Linked DNA regions of Homo sapiens: all the other regions are linked to region 1. The links are contacts of gene promoters, found by promoter capture Hi-C in blood cells and fetal thymus (Javierre and others, 2016). All regions are on one chromosome and are shown on one strand. The core of a region is centred on a gene start or on the middle of the fragment in contact, and the rest is flanking DNA. Distances in the headings are between cores, read along the strand shown. Region 1 holds the start of HOXB5 (homeobox B5). Region 2 holds the start of CBX1 (chromobox 1). Region 3 overlaps SKAP1 (src kinase associated phosphoprotein 1). Region 4 overlaps SKAP1 (src kinase associated phosphoprotein 1). Region 5 overlaps SKAP1 (src kinase associated phosphoprotein 1). Region 6 overlaps SKAP1 (src kinase associated phosphoprotein 1). Region 7 overlaps SKAP1 (src kinase associated phosphoprotein 1).

The links. The method cuts DNA at HindIII sites, captures the fragments that hold promoters and counts their contacts. A CHiCAGO score of 5 or more calls a contact.
Region 2: the fragment with the promoter of CBX1 here is called in contact with the fragment with the promoter of HOXB5 in region 1 in 10 of 17 cell types (total CD4 T cells, naive CD8 T cells, total CD8 T cells and 7 more); the score reaches 11.8 in total CD4 T cells.
Region 3: a fragment that was not itself captured here is called in contact with the fragment with the promoter of HOXB5 in region 1 in 2 of 17 cell types (megakaryocytes and total CD4 T cells); the score reaches 5.6 in megakaryocytes.
Region 4: a fragment that was not itself captured here is called in contact with the fragment with the promoter of HOXB5 in region 1 in 3 of 17 cell types (endothelial precursors, total CD8 T cells and megakaryocytes); the score reaches 5.7 in endothelial precursors.
Region 5: a contact is called between a fragment that was not itself captured here and the fragment with the promoter of HOXB5 in region 1, in 1 of 17 cell types (endothelial precursors). The highest score is 5.4, in endothelial precursors.
Region 6: a contact is called between a fragment that was not itself captured here and the fragment with the promoter of HOXB5 in region 1, in 2 of 17 cell types (M1 macrophages and endothelial precursors). The highest score is 7.9, in M1 macrophages.
Region 7: a contact is called between a fragment that was not itself captured here and the fragment with the promoter of HOXB5 in region 1, in 1 of 17 cell types (erythroblasts). The highest score is 5.4, in erythroblasts.

The regions. Positions count from the first base shown.
Region 1 is chr17:48,592,529-48,596,774 of GRCh38, forward strand. It overlaps HOXB5 (homeobox B5), which reads right to left and starts at 1,251. Exons shown (of 2, transcript NM_002147.4): 1 at 593-1,251. The coding sequence starts at 1,154. All of the region lies in intron 1 of HOXB-AS3 (HOXB cluster antisense RNA 3), which reads left to right. HOXB6 (homeobox B6) reads right to left here. Exons shown (of 4, transcript NM_018952.5): 4 at 3,223-4,144. The coding sequence ends at 3,885. RefSeq lists a silencer at 875-924 and enhancers at 1,181-1,688, 1,390-1,459, 1,689-2,194, 3,237-3,908, 3,966-4,135. The HindIII fragment of the contact is 5,828 bases long and covers 607-4,246 here.
Region 2 is chr17:48,099,574-48,103,819 of GRCh38, forward strand. It overlaps CBX1 (chromobox 1), which reads right to left and starts at 1,905. Exons shown (of 5, transcript NM_001127228.2): 1 at 1,695-1,905. RefSeq lists enhancers at 1,638-2,237, 2,064-2,323 and a silencer at 1,644-1,693. The HindIII fragment of the contact is 8,551 bases long and covers 1-4,246 here.
Region 3 is chr17:48,135,395-48,139,640 of GRCh38, forward strand. It overlaps SKAP1 (src kinase associated phosphoprotein 1), which reads right to left. Exons shown (of 13, transcript NM_003726.4): 12 at 1,835-1,943. The coding sequence ends at 1,842. Among named protein-coding and RNA genes, the nearest start is that of MIR1203, 19 kb to the right of the region's middle. The HindIII fragment of the contact is 2,109 bases long and covers 661-2,769 here.
Region 4 is chr17:48,165,457-48,169,702 of GRCh38, forward strand. All of the region lies in intron 10 of SKAP1 (src kinase associated phosphoprotein 1), which reads right to left. Among named protein-coding and RNA genes, the nearest start is that of MIR1203, 11 kb to the left of the region's middle. The HindIII fragment of the contact is 3,368 bases long and covers 486-3,853 here.
Region 5 is chr17:48,188,475-48,192,720 of GRCh38, forward strand. SKAP1 (src kinase associated phosphoprotein 1) reads right to left here. Exons shown (of 13, transcript NM_003726.4): 5 at 949-1,026. Among named protein-coding and RNA genes, the nearest start is that of MIR1203, 34 kb to the left of the region's middle. RefSeq lists an enhancer at 3,695-4,246. The HindIII fragment of the contact is 2,439 bases long and covers 744-3,182 here.
Region 6 is chr17:48,209,232-48,213,477 of GRCh38, forward strand. All of the region lies in intron 4 of SKAP1 (src kinase associated phosphoprotein 1), which reads right to left. It also overlaps the pseudogene LSM3P1. Among named protein-coding and RNA genes, the nearest start is that of MIR1203, 55 kb to the left of the region's middle. The HindIII fragment of the contact is 9,033 bases long and covers 1-4,246 here.
Region 7 is chr17:48,227,504-48,231,749 of GRCh38, forward strand. The region is part of intron 4 of SKAP1 (src kinase associated phosphoprotein 1); the gene reads right to left. Among named protein-coding and RNA genes, the nearest start is that of SKAP1-AS2, 65 kb to the right of the region's middle. The HindIII fragment of the contact is 1,138 bases long and covers 1,691-2,828 here.

The sequences.
Region 1 (4,246 bases), core at 1-2,500:
CGGGGGAGCAGGACCCAGGCGTCCCGGCACCCAGCTCACCACAGCTCCAATCCTCTCTACTCCAGATGCCCACATTCAAGCTCGATTTCTGCACCCCTTTCTACTGCATCCCCCACTTCTGCAGGCAGCCAGTGCGCCCGGCTTTGTCTCTTGCTCGCTCCTAGTGCCTCACCCTTGGCTGGGCTCAGGCGGCCGCTCGCCCCGGGAGGGAGGAGAGCGGTTGCACTTTTGCCCCGGAAAGCTCCTTTTACTGTTCACCCCTTCTTTGCTAGCGACAGTCTCAAAATTTCAGGGGTAAGCAGGACCCTTCCCCACATTATATGAACCCCATCCTTTATCCTAAAGCTGGTTCAGCTGCGCTAATAAAAACCTAAGCCGAAGCTGGAAACAAATTATTAAAAATACCCCCCTCTTAACAGAGAGACCCTTTTTGGCTCTGTCTACGAAGCTATGAGGCCCCTCTTAGATACTTCTCCCCCTTAGAAAAATGAATCTATATTTAGGGTAAAGCCAAGCTCTCCTTGTCCCCCCGATCCCACCCCAAAACGCAGAGAAGGAAAGCCGAGAAGACAAAAAAGAGAGAGAGAATTACCATGGCTGATGTGAAGCTTCCTCATCCAGGGGAATATTTGCGGAGTCTGCCCCTCGGGCGCGGCTGTGGAGGTGGCCATGGGCTCTGGCTGCGCCCGAGCTAGGCTGGGGCTGCTTAGCTGGCTTGCCGCTTCCTCAGGCTCCGAGGACGCGCTGGCCTCGTCTATTTCGGTGAAATTGGCGCTGGAGCTGGCTGAGGTCGCCTGGTCGGAGGGGGACGAAGCAGAGGGCTTGGCGCCGTGGCTGTCGCCGTTGGTGCAGGGCAGGGACTCGGGCGAGGACAGGGAGCAGCTCGAAGCCGCTTGCCTGAAGCGGGGCTCCTGGGCGGGCGCGGGGAAGGCGCGCGAGCTCTCGCCCACCGCCCCAAAGTGGCTGGAGGAGGCCGAGGAGCGGTTGACGCTGAGGTCCATCCCATTGTAATTGTAGCCGTAAGAGCCGGTGTGCATGGCAGCGGGATCCCTGTAAGAGCCGCTCAGAGAGCTGCCACTGCCATAATTTAGCAACTGATAGTCCGGGCCATTTGGATAACGCCCCGAGAAGGAGTTTACAAAGTACGAGCTCATTTGGGTGATTTTGGAGGGCTTGATTTGTGGATCGTGGTCGTTATAACCCTGTGCTTCACGATTTATGATGTATTAATGAATTATAGCGATGCACTGTACTTCGTTTTGCTATGTATGCGGCCAAATATGGGGGGGGGGTTGGAAGGGGGGTGGGGGGCGTTAGGGAATCACGTGCTTTTGTTGACCAGTCGTAAATTCTCGCTGATGACCTCAAGAGGTAATTCATGCTCTATGGTTACAAATAATGACGATCCGAGAATCGTTAGGGCCGATTCAATGCGAGCCTCCGAGAGAGGGGGAAAAAAGGAGAAGGGGGAGAAACAGAGAGAAGGTTGGCTTTGGCCTCTGAGCAGAGCGCGCCACCTCCCGGCGACCGACGGGAGCGCGGGCGTGAGACCGCCATGGCGGCGGGCGGCTGCCTCCCTGCTGGCTCCCTGCAGGCTCCCTGCAGTCGCCGGGAGAGAAAGAAACCCGGCCAAGGCTCAGCCACAGGGTTGAGCCTTTTAGAGCAGGGGTTGGGCTTTTTACCCACTTTCTTGTGGGTGGGGTTAGCCTCTCTATTTGGTTCTTTCTCCCTACATCATCATTGTCGTTATTATTTTAACTTTGGATGAGAAGATCAAAGATAGAGTTGCTTTTCCCTTTCTTGGGCTTTGCAAGTCTCCGAATTGGAGGCGGAAATGGGGGAAGGGTTGGAAGTTGTGTGTGAAAAACAATTATTGCAACGGGTTTTCCCCAGGAGCTTAGTCCGGCCTGCATCCTGGTGGAACTGCTGTTACCGGTCCACAGCGCCCAGGCCGAGCCGGCAGGGCTGGGCGGGAGGCTTGAAAAAGAAGGAGAAGCGTTCACTTCTCCTGGGCCACTTGGAAGTTCGAAATCCCCTTCCGGACCTCCTTGGTGGTCCTTAGCCCAGGCGTGGGGAGTGACAGAGCAGGACAGGGACCCCAGAAACCGAGCACAGCTGGGGCTAAGCGGCCTAGTTGCCGAAAAGACTGCAGCGGCCACCGCGTCTGCTGCTTAGTTTGAGTAGTAACATGTGTCTGAGAGTTTGTAAAGCGGGATCCCTTCCCCTCCTCCTCGGCTATTGCATTCGGAGGCCCCACTACAGGTCCCTCACTCGCAGCTAGGCAGTTTGAGAATTTGCCTGGTGGCAGCCGCCTTCCCGGAAAAGGGGTTCCAAGGACCCGCATGCTTTGCTGAGCACGCTGGGCGGCCAGAGACCGCCGCAGCTGGTCTCCTATTAGGAGGGGACTATTTTCTTTAAAAATAAGAAAGGAAGCGAGAGGGCGGAGGAATAAAGGAAAACAGTGACCGCAGCTTGCCTTCTGGGTGCCGGTGCAAGCAGAGAGAGAATGAGCCATTCTGGGTTGAGAGGATGACACTAAAAGCCCCATCACCTGGCCTCCTGCCCTGGGGTCTCCAAGGAGCAAGGGAAAGTTGTGGCCTTCGGCCTGTGCCTGGCTGGTGGCTTTACATTCCCCTACTTGAGGCTGATCTCCTACTTGAGGCTGATCTGCTACTTGAGGTGGGAAGGGGCACCTGGAGCCTTCAGCTGCAGGGTGAGAGATACCCAGTGGCCCCATTTTTCAGTCTCCAGAGCCACAGGCCAGGAGCGGAGGGCCAAGGCTGGCGAAAAAACCTGGCCATGTGGACGGGCCAAAGACCAGGGGTCGCTGCGAAGGTGAGGACAGAAAAGCGCTGCAGAGGCCCCCAGACTATGGCTCCGTCTCCGCCAGAGAGCTTTAGGGGCCTCAGTGGCTCCCTTAGTGCTGTGTATACACGAGGAAAGGCTAGAGAATGAGAGGGACACAGCACCTCTCCATCCCCCAAGTCTGCACGGGGAGAAGCGGCTGTGAGCCTCAGCACCAGGGAAACGCAGCGCTGGGGCCTGGGCAGGACTGATCGCTCCAGCCTTTATCTCAGCTGTAACTTCCCAGTCGAACAGGGCTCGCTTCGGCGGGCCAGGGCTCTCGCCTTTGCTGAAGAATTCTGGCTCAGGAAAGATGGAGAGGCTGGGGGTTGAGGAGAGAGGAAAAAATGGCAGGGGAGGATTGGAGGTGACCGAGCGTCGAGTTTTCACATCTTTATTATTGTTGTTGTTGTTGTTATTATTATTATTATTATCATCATCATCATCATCATCATCATCGAAGTATTTCACGTCCAGAGCTAAGACAAGACTACAAACACAACACATAGAAAATTAATAAAATAGAACTTTGTTTTCTTCTGAGGCTCCTCTTCTTACTTCTAGGTAGTATGTGCTCCTTCCAGTGGCTTTGGGGAGGGGGTGGGAGAGACGACAGGTCTGGGATCAGGGAGTCTTCAAGGCCCCCGCTGAGGGGACAGCGAATCTACCATTGAACCGTGCACGGGGGACATGGACAAAATGAGACGCGACAGGGACAAGAGCATTTTGCTCTGCTTCCAGGAAACATCAAGTGAGTCCGCTCCTCAGTTCTCACCAGGAAGCCTGATCAGGCTGAGGCGAGTTCCTCGGGAAGGAAGGGCGCGCGGGATGCTGGGTGGGCTCGAGTAGTGAGGCCTCAGAGCACCCGCCGGGAGCTGTGCGGGCGGGGGCGTCCAGGAGAGCGCTGGGCCCCGCCTGTCTGCGCCGGAGAGCAGGTCTCCTGGCTCCCCCACCCGAGAGCCTTCCTTCCCGGGTCTCTCTGACGCCCTCGGCTCCCCACAGGCCTTTCCCCTCGCGTCCTCCCTCCCTTTCCAGCACCTTCACTCGGCCTGTTTTTCTTCCTCCTCCTCGGCACTGAGCTGAGACGCGCTGAGCAGTTTGCTCTCCTTTTTCCACTTCATGCGTCGGTTCTGGAACCATATCTTGATCTGCCTCTCCGTCAGGCACAGGGCGTGCGCGATCTCGATGCGCCGCCGCCGCGTCAGGTAGCGATTGTAGTGAAACTCCTTCTCCAGCTCCAGCGTCTGGTAACGTGTGTATGTCTGGCGGCCTCGCCGGCCGCTGGGCCCAAAGGAGGAACCTGTTACGCAGAGTGGAGATGCTGAGGCCTGCGGTCACCGGGCCCAGGACCCCCTCCCCTAGTCGACCCTCGAACACAGACTCCAGCCAGTACCGGGATGCC
Region 2 (4,246 bases), core at 655-3,154, 490 kb before region 1:
AAAGTCTATAAGGCACCTAGGGAGGAACACCGGCATTAATTTCCCCATTGTATTCCTGAATCTATTCCAAAGCCTTGGACCTTTCACAATCTTTCCAAACTGCTGATGTGACTCTTAACACAATTGAGGAGGCTACTTTACCCTGGGCTAGGGGTTCTAGTATATAACTGATTATAGCTGAACTTTTTGTAAATTCCACCTCAATTGCGTTAAACCAACACGTCTAAATGTAACACCAATTTATGAAAAACCCTCATTTGAAACTTTGAAAAAGAGGTAAAATATGGCCAGGCGCAGTGGCTCACGCCTATAATCCCAGCACTTTGGGAGGCCGACGCGGGAGGATCACGAGGTCAGGAGTTCGAGACCAGCGTGACCAGTACGGTGAAACCCCGTCTCTACTAAAAATACAAAAATTAGCCGGGCGTGGTGGCGTGTGCCTGTAATCCCAGCTAGTCGGGAGGCTGAGGCAAGAGAATCGCATGAATCCGGGAGGTGGAGGTTGCAGTGAGCCAAGATCGCACCACTGCACTCCAGCCTGGGCAACAGAGGAAGACTCTTCTCAAAAAAAAAAAAAAAAAGAGGTAAAATATAGCTCACTCTATTCAAATTTTCCAACAAGGAAAAGCTGGCTAAAAACAGAAGGGCCCACGAAACAAATATTACCTCACAATCTCACATAATTTTCCTATGTCTCCCAATTTCTCGCACCTCACACGATCTCACAATCTCTCACTACCTCACGCCGTTCCTCAACTATTAACTCATCTACATATTTTTACAATTTCATCACCTTTGTGAGACCAGTTACGATCCCACACAAAAACGTACGGAACTAATTTTGAATCAAAGCAAGAACTGCACTTGGACTTTTTTAACTCCCCAAAGGAATCATGGAGTGAAGGTAGTAGGAAACCTGGAAAACTGAAAAAAGCGTATTCCATCCTTTCTTCGCACATTATTCTTACAGCCTCCCCACTGTAAGGACCCATCAGGATGCAAGGGCGGCCTGCTTTCCCCTTTTTTCTTACATACCTTATAGAAATATTCTCGGGATCTCCGCCCTACTTATCCTAACAGCTCCTCCCCTTCCAGAGTCAGGCCCAGCAAACGCCTGCCCCTCCCCCTCCGTGTCCCCTTTCCCAATTTATTCCACACATCTCCTCCTCCAATCAGCACACCTTGTGCGGCCCTGGGCCCTCTTCCAATTCACTCGACGTTACTCCTCCGTAGTCCTGCAAAGCCAGGTTCCTCTGGCAGTCCCAGCCGGACCCGGCGTCTTCCGAATACAGTTACAAACCTCGGGTTGTGCGGTCGTATGCGCCTCCTCACGCCTATCCAAGCCTCAAGCCTGTCCCCTTCCGCCCTATCCCGCAGCCGCCCAGCCAAGCAACATTGTTCCAGACCACCCGGGCCCCGAAGAGCGGCCCCCAAGTGCTCGGCCCACCCCCAAGCACTCAGTCTCTGGCTCAGGATTCGCGCCCCGCCCTCTCCATCCTTCACGCAGCTGGCACCGACGCCTCAGCGACAGGCGAAGAGCTCAGCGCGGGAAGCGGAGAAGCAGGACGCTGGACCCGGGCGCGCTCCCCGCTCCTAACCTCCGCCTCGAAAGCGCGTTCCCTCACGCAGGGCTCCCGCCGCCGCCGCCGCCGCGCCCCCTCCCCCAGCTCTCCCGCCTCCAGCGGGCTCCTCACCTCAGAGCAGCGCCCAAGAGCCCGAGAGGAATCGGTGCTGCGCTGCTGGCGCGTCGCGTCGGGTCGCCTGGGGGAGTGGCGCCCAGGAAGGCAGCAAGCCGGGTGGCCGCAGTGGCGTCCCTCACTGAAGCGGCGTACCGCAGGCCCCGGCCAACGGCCCTCCCCTCAGCCGAACAAAAGAGCCTCGCAGTCTGCGCTGCCCGCCGCTCGCACCGCGCAGGCGCAACGACCCGCCGCACGGCACCATGGGCCTCGGGGGTCTGTCCAAGACTACAAGGCCCGAAGCGCCGCGCGCCGCGCACGCACAGTAGGCGAGGGTGGTAGGGACTTATAGTTTTTAAACTGTAACGGTGGAGAGATTGCAGCGTAGAGCGTTGTAACCTAGAATATTAGAACATATGGGCCAGGGGCAGTCGCTCACGCCTGTCATCCCAGCACTTTGGGAGGCCGAGGCGGGTGGATCACCTGAGGTCAGGGGTTCGAGACCAGTCTTACCAACAAGGTGAAACCCTGTCTCTACTAAAAATGCAAAAATTAGCCGAGCGTGGTGGCAGGTGCCTGTAGTCCCAGCTACTCAGGAGGCTGAGACAAGAATTGCTTGAACTTGGGAGGCGGAGCTTGCAGTGAGCCGAGATCCAGCCACTGCGATCCAGCCTGGGCGATGGAGCGAGACTCCATCTCAAAAAAAAAAAAAAAAAAAAATTAGAACATATGATTTTTATAAGCGAGCCCCCTGATGCTTGGCCCCCAAAAAATCAACCACTTCTGGACAGTTCTGTAATTCACATCCTCAAAATTTTTGAATCTTAGATTCTTCACCAGAACTTTATCATATCGCCGCTGCCTCAAATTTCCAATGATTTCTTAGTCCTCAATCTCTGCCTCCTCAAATCTCTGTAAAATTCCTACTCACGCCGGCACGGTGGCTCAAGCCTATAATCCCAACACTTGGGGAGGCGGAGGTGGGTGGATCACTTGAGGTCAGGGTTTCAAGACCAGCCTGGCCAACATGGTGAAACCCCATCTCTACTAAAATACAAAAATTAGCTGGGCGTCGTGGCGGGCGCCTGTAGTGCCAGCTACTCGGGAGGCTGAGGGAGGAGAATCGCTTGAACCCAGGAGGTGGAGGTTACAGTGAGCCGAGATCGCGCCATTGCACTCCAGCCTGGGCAACAAGAGCGAAACTTCGTCTAAAAAAAAAAATACTGTTCAGTGTTAAGATTACTTCCCCTTTGAGGTCTTCCCTGATTCCCTAGAGTAGGTTAGGTCCCCCCATAGGCCTCTCATAGCTTCCTGAATTTCCCCCTTTTCACTGGCTGCGCCACAAAAATGTCCTCTTTTTCATTGTAAGTTGTGCTCACCTTTTTCAGTGTCATTAATCTCCGTCAGCACCTTTCACCCAATCATCCCAAGGAAACACACAATTAGGAAAAAAACATGTTTTTAAGCCACAATATAACTAAAGTTTTATTTTTTTATTTTAAAGTATCCTTCTAATCAGGAGGAAGAGGGAAACTCTATTGCACTCTACCCCAAAAGGCAAGAGTTTGCATTTATAAGACAGTTTTGCTGATGCAGGCACTGTTCAGGGCAGGAGTTTGCATTTATAAGACAGTTTTGCTGATGCAGGCACTGTTCACGGCTCTGGAGAACTGTCATGTAAGAAAAACCCAGCCCAGCAATATCATAATAGAGTTTAGTTAAAAGGGCTTCAAGAAAGCACAGAGAAGATGAGAGGTGAAGCCAGCTGGACTTCCTGGGTCGAGTGGGGACTTGGAGAACTTTTCTGTCTTACAAGAGGATTGTGAAATGCACCAATCAGCGCTCTATACCTAGCAAGGGGATTGTAAAATATACCAATCAGCACTCTGTAAAAACACACCAATCAGCCCTCTGTAGCTAGCAAGAGGATTGTAAAATGCACCAATCAGCACTCTGCAAAATGCACCAATCAGCGCTCTGTAAAATGCAGGAATCTAAAAGTAGCCAATCACAGGGAGGATTGAAAAAAGGGCACTCTGATAGGACAGAAATAGCAAATGGGCAGGGACAAACAAGGGTGTAAAAGCTGGCCCCCTGCCCCCCACCCATTCCTGTTAGCCCGCAGCAGCAACCTGCTCAGGTCGGTTTCCACGCTATGGAAGCCTTGTTCTTTCGCGTTCTTTCGCTCTTCACAACAAATCTTGCTGCTGCTCACTCTTTGGGTCCCTGCCAGCTTTAAGAGCTGTTTTTAACACCATGAAGGTCCGCGGCTTCATTGTTTAAGTCAGGGAGACCACAAACCCACCGGAAGGAATCAACTCCGGACACAAAGAGAGCAATTCTTCCTGAAACATTTGGGCTGGGTTTCTAGGAAGAAGCAAGTGAGAAGCAAGCATCTCCTCACTTCCTCCTGTAGTGTACTGTTTTTGACTGATGATGATGAGAAAATTAGTTGTAATGATAATTAGCTACTATTAATGAGTGCTTTTTTTGTTTTTTTTCCCTGAGGTGGAGTCTTGCACTGTCGCCCAGGCTGGAGTGCAATGGCAAGATCACGGCTCACTGCAACC
Region 3 (4,246 bases), core at 465-2,964, 460 kb before region 1:
TCCCACTATTACTCCACCCAAACCAGGCACCCACCCCCACTATTTTGAAACACAATGTGGTTCTTGCTAATACAACACAAACCTATTCTTTTTCTTTTTTTGAGACAGGATCTTGCTCTTTCACCCAGGCTGGCGTGCAGTGGTGCAGTCATGGCTCACTGTAATCTCAACCTCCTGGGCTCAAGCATTCCTCCCACCTTAGCCTCCCAAGTAGCTGGGCCTACAGACGTGCACCACCACACGTGGCTAATTTTTTAAAAAAAATTTTGTAGAGACCTTCTGCCCAGGCTGGTCTCAAACTCCTGATCTCAAGTGATCCTCCTGCCTTGGCCTCCTGAAGTGTTGGGATTACAGGTGTGAGCCACTGTGCCTGGCCCTGCAAACCATATTCTCTATTACTTAAAAGTTAATTTGATTATGTTCCATAGTTCCAATATTTCATATGTTCCAATATAAGGAATCCTCATATTGGATTCCTAATCTTGGTCAGTCATATTGCAATATGTGGGGATTTTGGGGAAATGGTGCCCTGGGTTTGAGAGCTGGGGATAAACCTAGATCCATCCCTGTGGCAAAAATTGCTAGTTTTATCCCAATATCCATTCTTCCCTTTGTATTTAATCATGAATCTCCCAATTCTAAGCTGGACACAGGGCTATAAGCTTTCTTTACAGCTTGCTGTGTCCATATATTCCAACTTCTGACCAATGGAATGTGAAAGGAAGTGTGTGCGCAACATCTGTGAAGTACCCTTAAAGGAAGAGGGTATGCTTTTCTCTCTCTTTTTTTTTTTTCTCAAGACAGTCTTGCTCTGTTGCCCAGGCTGGAGTGCAATGGCGTGATCTTGGCTCACTGCAACCTATGCCTCCCGGGTTCAAGCGATTCTCCTGCCTCAGCCTCCTGAGTAGCTAGGATTATAGGTGCACACCACCATGCCTGGCTAATTTTTTGTATTTTTAATAGAGATGGGATTTCACCATGTTGGCCAGGCTGGTCTTGAACTCCTGACCTCATGATCCGCCCGCCTCGGACTCCCAAAGTGCTGGGATTACAGGCGTGAGCCCCTGCGCCCGGCCTGACCTTCTCCTTTTATCTTTCCTGCTGTGCTGTGTAGGTTGCAGACAGGATGGCTGGAGATTGAGCATCTGTCTTGGCCTTGAGGTAACCTTGAGAATGTTGGGCACACAGAGAAGAACAAAAAGAAAAGGTACCTGGGACTGGATACCTTGGACCACTTACCTCTAGATTTTTGCAGAAGAGAAAAATACATTTCTGTGTTAATTTTTTTTTTTTTTTTTGAGACGGAGTCTCACTCTGTTGCCCAGGCTGGAGTCCAGTGGTGTGATCTCGGCTCACTGCAACCTCCGCTTCCCGGGTTCAAGCGATTCTCCCCAGTAGCTGGGATTACAGGCGCCCACCACCACACCTGACTAATTTTTTTTTTTTGTATATTTAGTAGAGATGAGGTTTCACTATGTTGGTAAAGCTGGTCTCGAACTCCTGACCTCAGGTGATCTGCCCACCTCGGCCTCCTAAAGTGCTGGGATTACAGGTGTGAGCCACTGTGCCTGGCTTTCTGTGTTAATTAAGTCATTTTTAGTTTAGATTTTATGTTGCTATTAGTTGAACCTTATCCTAAGTGACACTGTCCCCAAATTTAAGAAAAAAACAATTCCAGAGGCATTTTCTTTCCATCAGTGGTGAATCACTAGCATTAGTATGAGAAATGAAGAAAAGCTACTTCACTGGCAACTCTCATCTTTCAGAGAAACAAAGTAGTGGCCCACAAGTTCCACTCAACTATTAGGCAGTTCATTGGCCATGGTTCTGATACCTGGGTTTCATCTTTCTTCCACTTCAAAGGCAGTGGTGAGATACTCCTTTGGAACAATCCCAACGAGGCTGTTCAGTTCTCCCACCCACCAGCCATACATGTTATACTCCTGAAAAGTGAAAAGAGGATAGCGTCAGTTAGAATTTGTTCATGCTTCTGCTCATTTATTCTAGTGATTGCATGGGAGATTCTGTTTGGTGGTTTCATTGTTGCCATTATCACTGTGAACTGTTAACTTCCCTGATGGGATTATTAAATTTAAAAAAATCATCTAGAGGAAGAGAGCAAGCACTTTCCTTTTGCCATCTTCCTGTCTACATTGTAAAATTAGCACATTTGATGCCCTTGCTGAACCTGAAGAGCATTTTTTTTTAAACCAAGCCGAATGGTATGGCTTCTTAGAGAAAGTTGGGCACACATTAAATTGCCAGAACACTACAGATATTCAAGGGGTCAAGTCATAGTTCAAATCAATAATATTTATCAAGCATCTTCTATGTGCAAAGTGCTGTTTGAGTTCCCATGAGGTATGTAATGATGAATCAGAAGATTGCTTGCTCCTTGGGAGCTTACAGCAGAGTAATGGGCTTTGGAGTCAGACAGACTGAGATCTAATCCTCGCTTGGTCATTTAGTAGTCACATGACCTTAGGTTCTCCTAGCTTTAGCTTCTTTGTGAGAGTAGGGATAATATCTCCCTTCTATCTTGTGGGGATGTAAATTGTATCACTGAAGTAAAAACAACTGAAAGTGTTTGATACATAGTAGATGCTCTAAACATTAGATTCTTTCCCTAGAACAGGTGAGAGGTGACAGGTACATTAATAATGACAGGCTAGTCACAGAGAGGAACAAACAAGAAAGAGGATGAGAGGGTTTTAAAGAGAGTTTAAGGGGTAGTCACAGAGTGAGGATGCAGCTCCTTGAATACAGAAAAGCTTCTCAAAAGCACAGCAGATGTTGAAGAGTATGGGGCTATTTCTTTTTTTTTTTTTGAGACGGAGTCTCGCACTGTCGCCCAGGCTGGAGTGCAGTGGCAAGATCTCAGCTCACTGCAACCTCCGGCTCCCACGTTCAAGCAATTCTCCTGTCTCAACCTCCTGAGTAGCTGGGATTACAGGTGCGTGCCATCACACCCGGCTATTTTTTTTTTTTTTTTTTAGACAGAGTCTGGCTCTGTCTCCCAGGCTGGAGTGCAGTGGCGCAATCTCGGCTCACTGCAACCTCCACCTCCCAGGTTCAAGCGATTCTCCTGCCTCAGCCTCCCGATTAGCTGGGATTACAGGCGCGCACCACCACGCCCGGCTAATTTTTCTATTTTTAGTAGAGATGGGGTTTCACCATGTTGGCCTTGATGGTCTTGAACTTCTGACCCCAGATGATCCACCCGCCTCAGCCTCCCAAAGTGCTGGGATTACAAGCGTGAGCCACTGCGCCTGGCCACAACTGGCTAATTTTTTATATTGTTGGTAGAGATGGGGTTTCATCATGTTGGCCAGGCTGGTCTCAAACTCCTGACCTCAAGTGATCCACCAGCCTCGGCCTTGCTAAGTGCTGGGATTACAGGCGTGAGCCACTGTGCCCACTCTGAGTATGGGGCTATTTCTGATAGCACCAGAAAATGTTTTCTTTCTTTTGAAAGAAGTAAAATTAGAATGAAAAAAAAATTTTTTTTTTTTGAGACAGAGTCTCACTCTGTTGCCCAGGCTGGAATGCAGTGGCACAATCTTGGGTCACTGCAACCTCCACCACCTGGGTTCAAATGATTTTCCTGCCTCAGCCTCCTGAGTAGCTGGGACTACAGGCTTGCGCCCAGCTAATTTTTGTATTTTTAGTAAAGACGGTGTTTCACCCTGTTGGCCAGGGTGGTCTCGAATTCCCGACTTCGTGATCTGCTCACCTCGGCCTCTCAGAGTGCTGGGATTACAGGTGTGAGCCACTGTGCCTGGCCAAAATAAATTTTTTTTTTTTTGAGATGGAGTCTCGCTCTTTTGCCCGGTCTGGAGTGCAGTGGTGAGATCTCAGCTCACTGCAACTTCTGCCTCCTGGGTTCAAGCGATTCTTCTGCTTCAGCCTCCTGAGTAGCTGGGACTACAGGTGTGCACCACCACGCCCAGCTAATTTTTTGTATTTTTAGTAGAGACGGGGTTTCACCATGTTGGCCAGGCTGGTCTTGAGCTCCTGACCTCGTCATCCACCCGCCGCAGCCTCCCAAAGTACTGGGATTACAGGTATGAGCCACCGTGCCTGGCCCCGAATGAAATTTTAAGTATGGGAAATATCACATATTCCAGTTCAATTGGATTTGGGGTACCAAAGAGCTAACTGCTTCTTTGTACACTTGGTTGCTGAGTACTATTAGGAAAAACAAAACAAAAGAAGTAAAACCAGATTGGTGATATGTAAAATTCAG
Region 4 (4,246 bases), core at 920-3,419, 430 kb before region 1:
ATGGCATGATCTCGGCTCACCACAACCTCTGCCTCCTGGGTTCAAGGGATTCTCCTGCCTCAGCCTCCCGGGTAGCTGGGATTACAGGCACGTGCCACCACGCCCAGCTAATTTTGTATTTTTAGTAGAGACGGGGTTTCTCCATGTTGGTCATGCTGGTCTTGAACTCCCGACCTCAGGTGATCCGCCCACCTCGGTCTCCTAAAGTGTTGGGATTACAGGCATGAACCACTGTGCCCGGCCGACTTTGATTTCTGTAGAGCAGAGAGAGGAACTGAGAGCCCAAGGGTGAGGCTTGCCTCTATGGGCTGGATTTAGATTCCTTTAGGCTTACACTACTCTGGCAGCCGTCTGAAATCAGAAATGGTGCAGCATTCTGACCATTTAATTAATTCAAAACATCCTAATTCTCATTTTAAGGACATTATTCCATCTAATTATTTTTTTTCCAGTCTGTCCATTTGGAATGAAAAACAAAAGAATAAAGCTTAATGCCAGCATTTCTCAATGTCTCTCCGAAAAACATAACTCTGCACTAAATAAAGCCTGGTAATTCAAAAGCAAAGCACTAATATATTCAGCATAAAACAGACAGAGGACCTAGAGCAATAATGACACCACTAATAACTAAAACAGTTATAACAATTAACAACAATTACAATGATAGAGAAGCTAATGGGTATGATCACTGCATTTAAATTGCTAGCAGAGCTGAGAAGGGCTTTTTCTAGAGAAAAAAAAGCAGCATCTTACTCTCTTTATCCTATGTAAGGGAAGCTAAACTCCAAGCAACCAAAATGTCATAAGAAGAATAGCAACAGAACAAGTTAAAAAAAAGTATTGGTTTCTTTTTTCTATTTATTGCAAAGCATTTGTCATTGCATGCCAGGTTCTTTACAACTAGTGACAGTCATTTCTCTTGTAACTGAGGCCAAGTTGGTGCTACTGATGATAGAGTCAATGGCTGAAAATTAGCCTGTGTGACGAGCAAAGTTTTAAGGTAAAAAGGACCAGGACATCTCTCTGCCTTTCTCCTTCCTTAGGGACAATAAAATCTGACTGTTCCTTCCACAGTTCAGCTTATGTTTGGGAGTCACTGGGTAGCGACAGAATTCAGGCTGTGATCAGGGAAAAGTGGCTAAAGGCAGGCCAGCATGTTATTTACATTTTCTTGATTACTAAAATGATCGTGTCAATAAGGCCTGGCATTGAGTACAACCTCTTAAGTTATGGAAAAGAGAGACAAAACATGAAGATGGATAAAGCCAGTCCTACGAGAGGATGGGATGGTAAGACTTGGACAAAAAACGCCAAAGTAGTGACCCATTGGAAGTGACTTGAAATGTTCTTTAAGCCAGGTCAGAAAGGTCTAACATGTTGAGTTCATTCAAGTAAACTCTGACAATTTTTCCTTTTTTTTTTTTCTGAAATAGGGTCTTGCTCTGTCACCCAGGCTGAAGTGCAGTGGCACAATCATAGCTCACTGCAGCCTCGAACTCCTGGGCTCAAGCTATCTTCCCCCTGCAGCCTCCTGAGTAGCTGGGACTACAGGTGCATGCCACCACACCCAGCTAATCTTTTTAATTTTTTGAAAACACAGGGTCTCACTTTGTTGCCCAGGTTGATCTCAAACTCCTGGGCTCAAGCAATTCTCCCATCTTCGCCTCCCAAAGTGCTGGAATTACAGATGTGAGTTACTGCGCCCAGCCTTGATAGTTTATTAACTATTTCAGAAGAAAGCTATGAAAATATTTGCCAAGCCCCCAATGACTGTGGCACCAGAGGAGGAAGAGCAATTGGATAATACCATTTGCTTATTTCATAGCCCTTTAATCTTGAGTTTTGAAATTACTATGATCTTAGTGGTATAAGTATGATTTGGAAGTGGGGTATACTCAGATTCTGATTTTCATGTCATTTCCTCTTTTCATTGGGCCATAATTTTAGCTGGTTAATAATCAGCTCATGTTTGGTCTTGGAAAACAGGCTTCAAAAGGTAAGAGCTGCAAACACCTCTGTGGTTTCCCTTTGTTTCTTTCATGTAGTAGTTCACTCTATTGGCGCGCACTAAAGTGAGAAGGGGGCCTCAGAGATGGAATGGTATAAGCAACCATTTTTTGGCCCTCCTAAAAGCAATCATTTGCTTATAAGACCACAATAGTGTGGTCTGTGTCTCCTTTTGGCTTAGTTTTTCCACAATTTCAGAGTTGGGGTTGGGGGCAGACTGAAGGAGGTACGGGTGGGAGGGGTCTGTTTCAGGTTTTCCTTGGTCAGGGATTTTATGTATCTAAGGATGATTTGTGCCTCCAGGGTTGCTTTTTATTTGACATAGCACATGCAAACAAATGGCCAGTAATTTCTATAAAAAACGAACACAGAGGAAGTTTTATTTTTGGTTACCTGGAGGTTACCTTTTCATGATAGGGAAAGGTGATAAGTTCTCATTACCTAAGACCCTTAATGTTAGACTACTGGGCTGATGGGTTGGAATTTAGTGAAACTCTGAGGTGTTGAAGAGTCACTCATTAAAATAACCCTGTTACTAACAGTCATGCTGTAAACTGAGCTCTTTATAGATTGAGCAATCAATACTACAAGGCTGTGATAGATTTTCTAGGTAACAGAATGAAATAAAAGAAATTACATCTTACAGGGTCATTAACACTCAATAAGGATGAACCGAATCCCTTCCCCCCTATTCTGATAAGATCTAGTTAGGCCTTCAGAATGTTAGCAATTCCATCAGAGAAAAAAGCACAGCATTCAAGGAACAGGATCCATCGAGGTTGGAGAAAAGTACTTGGATTTTAAAAGTAACTCTGCTAGCCATAGCATCTTTTGGGAAAAAAGGAAGAAGGGAAAGGTCAACTTGCTTATATATATTTTTCTCCCCAAAAGCATGTTAACACCTGAGAAAAGGCTGGGCGTGGTGGCTCATGCCTGTAATCCCAGCACTTTGGGAGGCCAAGACGGTCGGATCCCCTGAGGTCAGGAGTTCCAGACCAGCCTGGCCAGCATGGTGAAACCCTGTCTCTACTAAAAGTACAAAAATTAGCCAGGCGTGGTGGCACGTGCCTGTGATCCCAGCTACTCGGGAAGCTGAGGCAGAAGAATCACTTGAACCTGGGAGGCAGAGGTTGCAGTGAGCGGAGATAGCGCCATTGCACTCCAGCCTGGACAACAGAGCGAGACTTCATCTCAAAAAACAAACAAACAAACAAAAAAACACACACCTGAGAAAAACTAAGTAGCCCAAACTTGTGTAGCTTGTCTATGACATAGGAATTCACACTGTCCTAGAGCTCCCTGCCTTTTAAATGCCTTCACTGGGGCTGCCTGCCCTTCCCCCAGACCTCTATCTTTTATTGTTACAAAACTAAATGATGACATTTGGATTTATGTATTTTTCACCATTTCTATAGCGCCTTTGGAGAAAAGGCAGTATATAAAATCAATCGATAAATAAGTAAACACAAATAATAAAAATTCCTGCCTCAGATTCTGCAGAGAGAGCAAAAAGTCCTCCTGTTTTTTAATCACTAAGTCACCAATCATTATAACTGGTGGGAAGTGTAAACCATAGAAACATATTCAGAGCTTGCTATACTTTAACAACACTTATTTTGGAGGCAGGAAGCATGAGGAACAAAAGGTTTTTTTTTTTTTAAACCTACTTGAATTATAGCTGTAGGAACAGTTAAGAAATAAATCTCCTCTCACCTCCCAGATATAACCTTAGAGAAAGAGGTGGAAGGAGGAAATGAGATGAGGGAGGAGTCTGAAACTGGATTCTAGACTTTGCTAAAAGATCAATGCTTTCTGAATGGAGTTTAATATGAAATTGGCCATAGGAAGCTTACAGTTACTCCACCCAAGCTGTCCACATGAAGTGTTTCTTTTCTGCACTGGTGATGGAAGTTGGTTGAGAAAAGATATATGTGGAACATGGGCGGGTCAGAACAGATTTTCATTTGGAATTCTGTACAGTAAGTAGACAACAGAAGGAAATAGGTTTCAGAATGGACCTAATCACATGTGTTCACTATCATGAGGTACTTGCAGCTACACTCACATCCGTGCATCACACCCGCCTCCACTGCTTTCTTTCTCTCCTGCTTTGGCGCATGACTTCTGAGGCTGCATCTTCGTTGTCTCTTCTCTTCCCTGGGAGAAGCTGGACCCTTAGGAAGTTGGGTCCTGAACCTTTTAAGTATTCACTTTCTGTAGAGAATGAACCTAGAAATGG
Region 5 (4,246 bases), core at 713-3,212, 400 kb before region 1:
CCAGGAGTTTGAGACCAGCCTGGGCAACAAAGTGAGACCTTGTCTCTATAAAAAAATAATAAAATAGCCAGGCACAGTTGTGTGCACCTGTTGTCTCAGCTCTTTGACAGGCTGAAGTGGGAGCATTGCTTGAGCCCAGGATTGGAGGCTGCAGTGAGCTATGATGGCGCTACTGTATTCCAGCCTTGGTAATAGAGGGAGATCCTATCTTAAAACAAAAAAAGAAAGAAAGAAAAAAAAAAGGCCGGGTGTGGTGGCTCATGCCTGTAATCCCAGTACTTTGGGAGGCTGAGGCGGGCAGATCACTTGAGGCCAGGAATTTAAGACCAGCCTGGCCAACATGATGAAATCCTGTCTCTGCTAAAAATATGAAAAATTAGCTGGGCATGGTGGCACGCACCTGTAGTCCCAGTTACTCAGGAGGCTGAGACAGCAGAATCGCTTGAACCAGGAGGTGGAGGTTGCAGTGTGCCAGGTTCACACCCACTGCACTACAGAGTGAGACTCTGTCTCAAACAACAACAACAACAATAACAAAAACAAAAAACAAAAGAGTTGGGTTTATCTGAAATTTGAAAGTAGACTGCTTCACATATGATACAAAAACTACACAGTGGGAGCACACTGAGAGATGAGGACAAGAACACCATTCATGGATTCAACAAGTTTTATCAAGCACCTGTCACATACCAGGCATTGGGGATACAGAGGTGAGCAGGACATAACCATCCCTATCCTGATGAAGCTTACAGTCTGCTCAAGGCTGGGACATCTCTCTTTAGCCTACACGAAAACACCAGACTCCTTTCCTTTCCTTGCTTTGCTTTTGCCTTGTATCCGCCTAGCACAGTACCGGGCACAGAGAAGGCATCCAATGTGTTAGCCTTCTTTTTCCTCACTTCCCTTCCCTTCCTGGAATGTTCTGAAATCTGTGGGTCTGACCAATACCTTTGCTTTTCTTCTCCAAGTATCCTTGCTTGATTACGTTATCAAGTTCTTGAGCTCCTTTTACGATGTCTTCCATTCCTAAAAGGACCAATGGCAAAATGCTTTATTGAAACCTGGCAAAATTTTCATTTATTTAGGCTACTTTAGGTAATTCACATTAATAACAGAGTACAAAAAGGGCAATTGCTTAAACACAGTACAAAATAAAACAATTTCTGTATGATTGGAGGGAAAAGTAAATTTTCTTGCTTTTTCTTTTTTTTTTTTTGAGACAGAGTCTTGGTCTGTCACCCAGGCTGGAGTATACAATGGCGCTATCTCGGCTCACTGCAACCTCTGCCTCCCAGGTTCGAGCCATTCTCCTGTCTCAGCCTCCCAGGTAGCTGAGACTACAGGCATGTGCCACCACACCTGGCTAATGTTTTTTGTATTTTTAGTAGAGATGGGGTTTCACCATGCTGGCCAGGCTGGTCTCGAACTCCTGACCTCAAGTGATCCACCCGCCTCGGCCTCCCAAAATGCTGGGATTACAGACGTGAGCCACCACACCCAGCCAATTTTCTTTCTTTTCAATTATATCTAATGCTAAAATTGCTTAAAACTATCTAAATATACACTAATTTGTAGTAAGGTGAGGTAGCGTAAATATGCACTGATGGGCAGGAAAAGGACTCCAGAAAATTAAGAATTTTTTTTTTTTTTTTGAGACAGTCTGTCTCTGTTGCCCAGGCTGGAGTGCAGTGGCGCGATCTTGGCTCACTGCAAGCTCCATCTCCCGGGCTCATGCCATTCTCCTGCCTCAGCCTCCCAAGTAGGTGAGACTACAGGCGACCACCACCACGCCCGGCTAATTTTTTTTTGTTGTATTTTTAGTAGATATGGGGTTTCACCGTGTTAGCCAGGATGGTCTCGATCTCCTGACCTCGTGATCCGTCCACGTTGGCCTCCCAAAGTGCTGGGATTACAGGCGTGAGCCACTGCGCCCAGCCAAACTTAAGAATTTTTTTGTGGATATAAGTTCCAAGTTGGATAAACCTCACTGAGATAATCAAAAGTCAAATGAATAGCTACCAGCACAGACAGCTTTAATGAGTAATAGATTCCACCATAAACGTAGTCACCTAAGAGGGAGCAATAAATACACACTCAATTTTTTTTCTCTTAACAAACAGATAGCCATCTCTGTGAACATAAATTTTTTTAAGTTCATAGAAGAAGGGCTATGCAAGCTGAACTTAGCAATAACTGTCAAATCCTGATTTCTTAAAAGTCTGAGAAAGAGGCTGGGCCCAGTGGCTCATGCCTGTAATCCCAGCACTTTGTGGGGCTGAGGCAGGCAAATCACGAGGTCAGGAGTTTGAGACCAGCCTGGCCAACATGGTGAAACCTCATCTCTACTAAAGATACAAAAAATTAGCCGGGCATGGTGGCACACACCTGTAATCCCAGCTACTCGGGAGGATGAGGCACAAGAATCTCTTGAATGCGGGAGGCGGAGGTTGCAGTGAGCCGAGATCGTGCCATTTCACTCCAGCATGGGCGACAGGATGAGACTTCGTCTCAAAACAAAACAAACAAAAAAAAGTATGCGAAAGAATCTAAGAACTGTAAAAGGCTTCACAAATAATACCCTGAAACTTACATCAGCCTTTAATTGTATGCTGCTAACATTCTTGGCTTTCAATTAGCCTTGTTAGGTACAAATTTATTGAGAAGTCAAGATCCTAATCCATCTTCCTCCACTGGGGTTTATACTTACTTCACAGAAGGGAGGGACAAAGGATGGAGACAAAGAAGGAATTTACTTCTCAAAAAATAAAATGAAAGAAGAATGAAAAAAAAAGCCTCTTTTAAGGACACACTCCACATTTCTTAATTAGGCAAAATGAAGGTAATTGGGCTAGCGGTATTTTAACATTTATTCTTTTTAGTCCCAGAACTCAAATCTCTTTTGGATTGTCTTAAATAATTTATGAAGCAAACCAAATACAAAACAAAGTAAGGCATAACTACATATGAATCAACTGGGCCACCTATAGAGTATCTTGAGAGTTATGGTTGAAATAACTTTTTTTCAAACAATTGTTTTTTGAACATTTCCTACAATAACATTTATTCAATGGTGGCTATGAGCTGGCACTTTGCTCAGTGCTTTTCCTACTTTTTGTTTTAAAATAACATCTACGACAATTTAAAATGCAATCAAAATTACATTTTGCTTTAAAGCTGTTTCAAGCTTAGTTATAAAAAGGTAGATCAGAAGAGCCTCTTTTTCTGTTTTTAAGTGTGTCTATGTGCCTGATTTTTTATCCAATTGGTCCTTATTGTTAACCTCCTTGTTCATGGACTACTTTTATTTGTGTGTTTCACAGTTAGCAAACTATGTGGTTGCCATAAATCCTTTTAATCAATCTCAGGGTGCACGCATGAGATGAACAGCAGCAAAGGAAAGTTCATTTTTCTAGGGTTCTTTCATTTCTCCTACCCCTCTGAAAACACCCTCCAAGGAAACAGTAGCAGATTCTACTGAGGGTGAGGCATTGAGTGGGGTGAGGACCAGTTACAGAAGAGAAGGCTCTCTGAAGTGCTGTCAAAAAATTGCTCCTGGGGAGGCCAGGTGTGGTGGCACAAACCTGTAGTCCCAGCTACTTGGAGGCTGAGGTAGGAGGATCTCTTGAGTCCAGGAGTTCAAGGCTGCAGTGAGCTGTGATTGAACCACTTCACAACAGCCTGGGGACAGAGCGAGACTCTGCCTCTTAAAAAAAAAAATTGCTCCTGGAGGCCTAAAAATTAAATGAAAGACATAGGGAGATGAGGAAAACACGATCCCATAAGCTGGGAGTTTCCATCTCTTCTTTCCACAGGTTTTTTTTTTCTTTTCTTTTTAAAGGTCTTGTTAAACTTAGAGACACAGCTCCTTGTCAAAGATGCCAAGAGTCTGAATCATAAAAGACATGTTAAACGTTCTATTAGAATTCAAACCTCCTTTTTTTAATGCAAATTTAAATGCCATTTTATGGAACATCTATAATTATGAAAATGGGAAGACATTGCCTCGTGTGCAGGGAGAGTCTGTGAGTATGAATATTACATTAATGTGCCCACACCAGCTCACTGATCCTGCTGGCAGGAGCATAAAAAATGCCTGAGTGAAACTTTTATTTAGATGTTAAGACTCCAGGCCCCAGCGGGGTGACAGAGACAGCCCCTGTGAGTTGCCATCAGAGAGAGAGCTTGAATTGAATTACCCAGGGGGGAGGAAGTAGTGATGAGCACTGCTTCGCTTATTTAATTTCAT
Region 6 (4,246 bases), core at 1,142-3,641, 380 kb before region 1:
GAATACAGTCCTTATTATAGAAACATTATTATACATTTATGTGGGGCTTTAAAATTTTTTAGAGCACTGTCAAACCTCCTATTTAACTTGGTTTTTATAATAGTCCTATTAGGTTTGTATTTACAGAGTCTGGAAGGATAGGATAAAAGTAATAAGAAACAAAATAGTTGAGAAGAAAAGCCAGTGAAATATTAAGGATTACCTAAGACATTGTAGAATCTTAATTACCCCAGGTTTGTAAAAGCTGGCCAGATACATGAAAATATTGATTAGACTGACTGTGCCTGTGCTGTAACAGGGGAATGATCACTAAATGACTCTTTGCTCTGTGTTCTAAGGTTGGATTCCATGTATGAAAGGATATTCAGAAGAGTGTAATGTGCTCTCTTAACATGAGCTCTCTTGCCATTTAACTATGGCTGAATTAGGGGCAAACAGCACTGCTTCTCTAGAGGTAAGAGAAAGTGTGAGGGCTGAAGGTGATTTCAAACAGCAGGTGAAGGAAGATGAAGAAATAGATACTTTTCCCCTCAGAAGTCTAAAACATCTTCTGAATCAGGCCCGGTTGTTTTGTTGTTGTTGTTTTATAAGTAGAATTGGTGCTGCTTAAATGGTGTGTGTTTAAGTTAACTGGAAAAGGGCCCCTCTTCCAAAATATCTTTTCAACTGACTTCTGTAATTCCTGAAATTCCATCATTTGGGGCCCATTCCCTTAGATTAAAGCATTATTCCCTGTTGAACTACAAATGCCTCTGGGAGAGGTAGCACATTAATCGAGATATTCTCATCCACAGTGTGGTAACAAGCTAGTACATCAGAAATCACTGGGAGGAGGAGGCACAGAGCTCCAGCTCTCCTAGGGATAAGGCACAGCTGTCTGTACCTATGCGGTAGACCACTGAGTAGAGGTAGATAACTGACAGATGTCAGGTAGCGACGCTTATCCATGAGGTCACGTGTGTGTGGCTGGCACTGTTATACGGAGCCATTATCAGTCATCGACACCTTGGAGCCGTGGTTCGTAACTCTGGCTGCACATCGGAATCACCTGTCTACTTTTTAAAAAAGTGTAGATACCTGAACTGCACCCCAGATATACTGATTCAGGATTATCTGGAGTGGGGCTGAGGCATGTTTATTTTTACAAAGTTCTATGAGTAGTTCTGATGCTCACCTAGGGCTAAGAACCACAGCCTCAGAGTAGATTTGTATGTTAGGTCCTTATCATCCTGATGGCTTGCTGGAGGGCCTTGGTGAGGTGGGCCCAGGGAGGCCCCCAGGTGGAGGGCCTGGACAGTGAGTATCAGAACAAGCACGAGGGGCAAGAGAAGTGCTATAGGCACCAAAGTAACCAAAGGTGACCTGGAAAAGAGCCAAGACAACTTGTACTCACAGCAATTTTAACAAACTACCCAGGATCATTATTACCAAGACTAGAATAAACTACATTAATCAACCAATAAAAGTTAGGACTTCTGCATAACACCATTTAAGAAATACTAAAGAAATTATTATCTGTGCTAATATAACTCTGGCTTTAATCGTTTCCATGGCTGAGGAGGCCACTTGTAGTCATTTCATCACTGTGGTATCTTTCCCATTCTATTCCTCATAGTCTCCTCCCGAGTGTTACCCTGCTCGGTTTGTCCTCGGCTACCCTCCAAAGGAAGTCCTTACCAGATGTATCATTAGGATTAGTTTAGCCAGTGTGACGGAAAGCCCCAAATAATAGAGGCCTTAACAAAATAGAAGGTAATTTGTCCCTCATGTATAAAAAGACTGGGGGGAGGCACCCCAGGAATGGGAGGGCACTTCATGCTCCTCTTTTTTTTCCTGAAAAAGAGTTTTGCATCTTGGTGATCACATTTATTAGAAGGGTTGGAGAAAAATAAAAATGCCATTTAGCTTAAGAAGTTATGAATTATCTGGGCTGGGTGCAGTGGCTCATGCTTGTAATCCCAGCACTTTGGAGGGCCAAGGTGGGAGGATGGCTTAAGCCCAGGAGTTTGAGACCAGGCTGGGCAGCACAGTGAGACCCCACCTCTATTAAAAAAAATTTTTTTTTAATAGAAGTTATGAGTTGTCTGCAAATCAATTCATTTCAGGAGTGGGAGAATTTCTTAATATCAAAATGTTTGCTGGTTTCTCTTTTGAATGTCCTGAACATTTAAAGAGGTACCTGTACAAAATCTCCTATTTTCCATATGGGATAAATTGTTTCAGCCAACTCTCAACGGAGGGACAACCAGGACAAAACATCTTCTGGGAAAAACAGCATTCGAATATTCTGTTTCGCTGATTTATATATCTCTTATATATGATGGCTTCTTCCTCAATTTCTGTAGTAGTCACAGTTTCTTCCACATCTCCCAATAACATATTTAAATGTAGATCATAAGCATGTAATCTGCCTAGAAGCTCCTGGTAATCTCTCATTTATCCATAAATTCATTTATCCAGGCTGAGCCTGATGAAATCAAGGGGCTCCTCTATGGTGTTGGTAGTTTGTTGCTGGTTTATGTCGTCCACCATGTTTCAAACCCTTCGCCCTTTCCTCTTCAGGCTCTTTCTATCTTTATAAAGTATGTCATTTGTTCGTCATGGTCCAAACTGGCTCCAGTTCCAGCCAGCAGGAAGGAGGAAAGGGGCAACACAGACAGCACCACCATCCCTCTACCTGCTTAAGGACACTTGTGTGTGGCCCTAAAAAGTTGACACATTACTTACACATTCCACTAACCAGAAGTTAAATCACGTGGTCAAATCTAGTTGCCGTGGAGGCAGGGAGTTGTTCTGGGCAGCCACGAACCCAGAACTGGGGGCTAGCTAGCAGTCTCAGCTACACCAGTAATACTGCACACAGCTAAATAAGTATTGGCAGTCACCTTATGAACCTAGAATATCCCACTGGAAAGAAAGAAAATGAGTATGGTAAGAGAAGACTGCTTAATTCCAGGTGTTGGGTAATTCGTGGCGATTAGAGGAAAGTGTTTTCCACTAATGAAGAGTGAGAATTTGTTCAAAGTAGTTATCTGTGGTCCAAGAATCATAACAGAGGCCTCAAATAAATGAAGTGTTGGTTTATCTTTTGAAAGGTTATGTTTCCTCTTGGAATTATGTGATTCAAAAGTCCACCTCTTGCCTAAGGAAGGACTGGAATACAGGCCTTCTTGTCCAAGTTCCTGAAGTTAACTTCTATAACACTGTCAGGAGCAGAACAACATATAAGACCACTGGAGTGTGCGCTAGCTGTTAGTGCTCACAAAAAGTAGGAGAAATGTTAGTACTAATTTCACACCCAAATTTGCTTAGATGTGCTTAAAAAGATTCTGATCAATGAAAAGGTATACTTTTCCCTAACTCTAGGGCTCCAAGTGCTTGAGGGTTACAGATAATGCTGTTCTAGATGCATGTGGTATAAAATACAAATAATCTGTTTAAGTCTATGGCAATGTTTGGATTGCTTCACTGACTAGGATGATTTTAAAAGTAAAGCACTGTATCTTTTCCAATCTGATCTCCCTAAATCATGCAATAGACTTGTTTCCTTTCTTTGTGTTTCTCATTTGTCCAGCTCATTGAATCGTATGGCTATTTACCTCAGTTAGATAGAGAAACATGGTGCTAAGGAGACGAAGGTGACCTGGTGCTAAGGAGACAAGGCTTTATCCCAAGTGGGTTGATTGGCGTGCAGAATTCAGTTCTGTTCCATGTCTAGTTGACTGCTTCTCTACCCCTGGCTAGTTATTCTGAGGGGATGCATGCTTCTTAAAATGGGGGGCTGAGTAGGAAAGAGTGGGTGCCTCAGCAGAATTAAGCTGTACTGTTGGCCGGGCTCAGTGGCTCATGCCTGTAATCCCAGCACTTTGGGAGGCTGAGGCGTGTGGATCACCTGAGGTCAGGAGCTCGAGACCAGCCTGACAAACATGGAGAAACCCCATCTCTACTAAATATACAAAAATTAGCCGGGTGTGGTGGCAGGTGCCTTTAATTTCAGCTACTTGGGAGGCTGAGGTAGGAGAATCGCTTGAACCCGTGCTTGAACACCACGGAGGTTGCAGTGAGCCGAGATCACACCATTGCACTCCAGCCTGGGCAACAAGAGCAAAACTCTGTCTCAAAAAAAAAAAAAAAAAAAGCTGTACTGTTGTAAACGCCCTGCAAAGGCCCTTATACAGAGTTGATGGGCCAGAAGTACCTCTATGCAAAGAGGAACATAAGTAGTTTGGATATGAAATGGTCTCTC
Region 7 (4,246 bases), core at 1,010-3,509, 360 kb before region 1:
ATCATCATAGCCACTAATTAATGCCAATTGAGCACTAACACCTTGTGTTAAGAATTTTAGAATTCTTTACCTCTAGTGGAAAATAAAAGAATTTTAGAATTTTATAGAATGCAGAGAGGATTGGCATTTTGGAATTTTTTATCAAGGGGAGATTCCATAACATAGTCTCAAAGAGAAGCTCATTTTTATTTTTATTGTGGGGTCTGAAAGAAATGAAGTTGACTGGCTAGTAGAGAGTGGTGGTGAAGAACATGGACTCTGCAGCCAGAGAGCCTGCTCTGAATCCAGGTTCCAACCCTTACCAGCTGTGAGACTTCAGCGAACTGATCAATTTCTCTGTGTTTCAGTTTTATCTTATAAGGTTGTTACGAGGATAAAATGAATTACTGCTAAATAGTGCTTAGAACTGTGTCTGGAACACAATATGCACTATGTAAATGTTGGTTAAATAAATAAAAATATTGGAGCTACAAAGTCTCTCATTCATTTCAAGGTGTATTTCTGTGTATATCCTGATCACTAATAAGTAGCAGAGATATTATGACATATATTTAATATCTACAATTAAGTTGCAGGCTTATGCATAGAGAAACACTGATGTAATTCAGTATTGTTAAGATTGCAGGAAACATAATTATATAAGATGTGGGGGTGGGGTAGGGTGTGTGTGAGAGAGAGAGAGAGAAAGACAAAGAGAGATAGAGAGATAGAGAGATTGAATGAGCATGAGAAATCTTTCTAATACACCAATAAAAAGTCTGTCTCTAAAATACTTAATTTTTTCACACCGTGTATTTGTGTCTCACTAAAAAACGCAATATAGAACATCTGTATTGTTAATAAACCTCCCATAGAGAGCACTGACACTTGAATAGCCTGAAATGTTTTCTGACATCTGACCAGAGCTAATCATAGATGCTTCTATAGGTTGGTTTCTGCTTTTGGAGCATTATTCAAATATTGCTGCAGTATTGTGTTAAATTCTCAAATCATACCCAATAGATAGCAAAGGTGGGCCTTGAATAATTTAAGCCTTGTATTAGGTTTTGTGTTAGAACTGAGGAAATAGCCTGGTGAGCATTTATTAGACTCCACTTATGTATCAGTTGCTGTTCTAAGTGCTTTACATGTATCAACTCATTCAGGTTTCAAAACAACCTTATGATGTAGGCGTTTTCCCATTTTATGAATGAAGAAACTGAGGGATACAGAGTTTAAGTAATTTGCTCAAACTATACAGCTAGTGACTGCCAGAGCTCAGTTAAGCCTTTTTGTTTAGTGCCTGGGGTTTTGGGCCAGGTCCTAGGCATTTTGGAAAACTGAAGAGAGAACTAGGCACCACAGAGCTGGGCTAAAGGAGCTGACACTGTGGTGGGATTCCTAATAGAACCCTGTGGTTTGCTGGCACAGGGCCCTCTACAGGCAGGTGGGGTAAGAGCTGGGGCAGATAAGGAAAGACACCACAGTTTAACATCTGATGCTCAGCTCAGAGAGGAGACCTCTCTGCCTCTTCTCAGCACTGCCTTCAGGTCTGGAGTGAGTCTCTGTACTCTTGGTCGTGCATCCCTGAGGGTGAGGTCTGGATCCTACTCTCTTTACACCCAACACTTAGCACCATGTCTGACACATTGTAGGCACCCAAAAGACCTGCGGTTAAGTATGAATCTCTTTTTTCAACTTAGGGTTCTGAAGCTTTAATATGAAAATTTTATTTATTTTTGTTTTTATTACGTAGACTTGGAAATAAAGCAAGAGAATGATGATCATCAACTACCTAGAAGCATCAGTTAAGTTAGCAGTACTAAACCTTTTTTTGTCATCATAAAACATTTGCGGGCCTGGCGTGGTGGCTCACACCTGTAATCCCAGCATTTTGGGAGGACGAGGTGGGCAGATCGCCTGAGGTCAGGAGTTTGTGACTAGCCTGGCCAAGATGGTTAAACCTCATCTCTACTAAAAATACAAAAATTAGCTGGGCGTTGTGGTGGGTGACTGTAATCTCAGCTACTCGGGAGGCTGAGGCAGGAGAATTGCTTAAACCCAGGAGGCAGAGGTTGCAGTGAGCTGAGATCATGCCACTGCACTCCAGCCTGGGTGACAGAGTGAGACTCTGTCTCAAAAATAAATAAATAAATAAAATATACATAAAAAATAAATAAAATATTTGCAGTTTTTTTAAACTCACAGGTTCAACTCATAACTTTTTTCTCCTTAATCTTGAGTTTATATATTTTGGCTGGTGCTAAACACCAATGTCACCCTCTCCAATTATAACAGCAAGAAGACATTTTAACCTAAACAGTGTTCTTCAGATTAATGAAATCTAATAGCAACTCTTTCACCTCTGGGCTATTCCAAACCAAGTGGTAATGACCAAAGACCATTCCTCATCTTGTGCTTGGATAGGAAACCCTGAGAAATGAGTCTTGGGCTTGGTCCAGTTTTTAGTGGAAAGTGCACACATCACAAAACTTAGTTTCAAAATTCGCCTCCATGCTGACAGTCTCTGTTAGAAGGGCAGAGCATCCAGGCTCAGACCTTGAACTGAAAAATCCTTCTCACTTTTCAACAATGCCCCTTTGGTTAGAATGCAGGTCAGGCATACTTGTCCAGCCATGGCCATTACTGGGCTGTCTGCTCTAGGGCTAAAAAAAGATGTTGATTTCCTGTAATATCTGCCCTGCAATTTTTACAGGAACAATGTTCATTAAATTAAAAATAATAAACCAGGCAATGTTCTTGTGTAACCTGTTTCTTAGAACTTGCTGTCCACATGACAGCCTTCCAGGATGTCTTTTCTTGTCCATACTAGGTTAAAGCATCAACAAAGCTTTGTTTTGTGTTAAACTCAAAGGTGTCTTTCTGCAGATTCTTCCAGAACTGCTTGATGGGGGAGAGGGAAGATCATGCCTGGCAAAAAGTGATTTACACTAACATATACACAAAGAAGATAATCATCTTGTTTTATGTGCCGGTTGCAGTGGCTCACACTTGTAATCCTAGCACTTTAGGAGGCTGAGGTGGGCAGATCGCTTGAGGCCAGGAGTGTGAGACCAGCCTGGGCAACATGGCAAAACCCTGTCTTTACAAAAAATACAAAAAATTAGCCAGGTGTGGTGGTGTGTGCCTGTAGTCTCATCTACTTGGGAGGCTGAGGTGGGAGGATCCCCTGAGCCTGGGGAGATAGAGGCTACGGTGAGCCACGATCATGCCACTGCACTGCAGCTTGGGTGACAGAGTGAGACCCTGTCTCAAAAAAAATTGTTTTATGAGTGAGTAAGCATATATAATTATAAGTAAGATCCTAAATCTTTATTAGACAGACATGTAATGAAATGGAATAGAATAGAGGCATAATGACATATTAACCTGATTTTTGCATAAAAGCACAGTTGCATAAAAAAGATATTGTATAGTCCTTTATGATAATGAAATGTATTACATATATTATCTCATGTAATCTGCACAGTTTAGGAGGTAGATGTGATACAGATGATGAAGAAAGAAGGCTGTGGGCATTTAATTCAGGGATAGGTTAAAGGATAGATGCAGGCAGTGTTTACATCTCTCTGTCCCAGTCTGTTTAAACCATAGTATTTTCAAGTTAGTGTACACAGTGGTTTACAAATCAGCTGCATTTGCATCACCTGGGCACCTTAAAGATACCTCTAGAGCCTTGCCCCTGTTTCACCAGATATCAGAATGAATTTCTGGGTCAGGTTATTGGAAATTTACATTTTTAACAGACTCCCTTAAATTATTCTATTATGCTTCCATGTTTGAGAGAGATCTTCACACTAAGGGTCTCTCAGACCAGTAATTATACCATTATTTCAAAAAACAGCTAATAATGTGTAGGGATTATTGCAATAGCTGTTGTAAAAGCATACATGCTTACACAGCCTGAAGAAAGAAGGCTGCTTTTGCAGAAAGCAAAAGCAAATTAACTTAACAACTGGCATAGTTTGAGGAAGGGTACTACACAAGTAGAAGGGTACTAAATACTCTATGTAGTTGAGAGGGTTTCAGAAAATGAGTTAATAAAAAAAAAAGAAAGCAAGGAATTTTACGCTGAGACCTTCTAACTGTCCTGAAATATTTGAAGGGTTGTCCCATAGAAATAGGGAGTAGTGGGAGTACTAGGACCCACAAGCTGAAGCTAATGACAGTGGGGGTTAAGTTCAGCCTGAGAAAGACCCTTTAGACCTTAGAGAGCCTCCACCTCCCCAGCCTTTGGGAATAATGG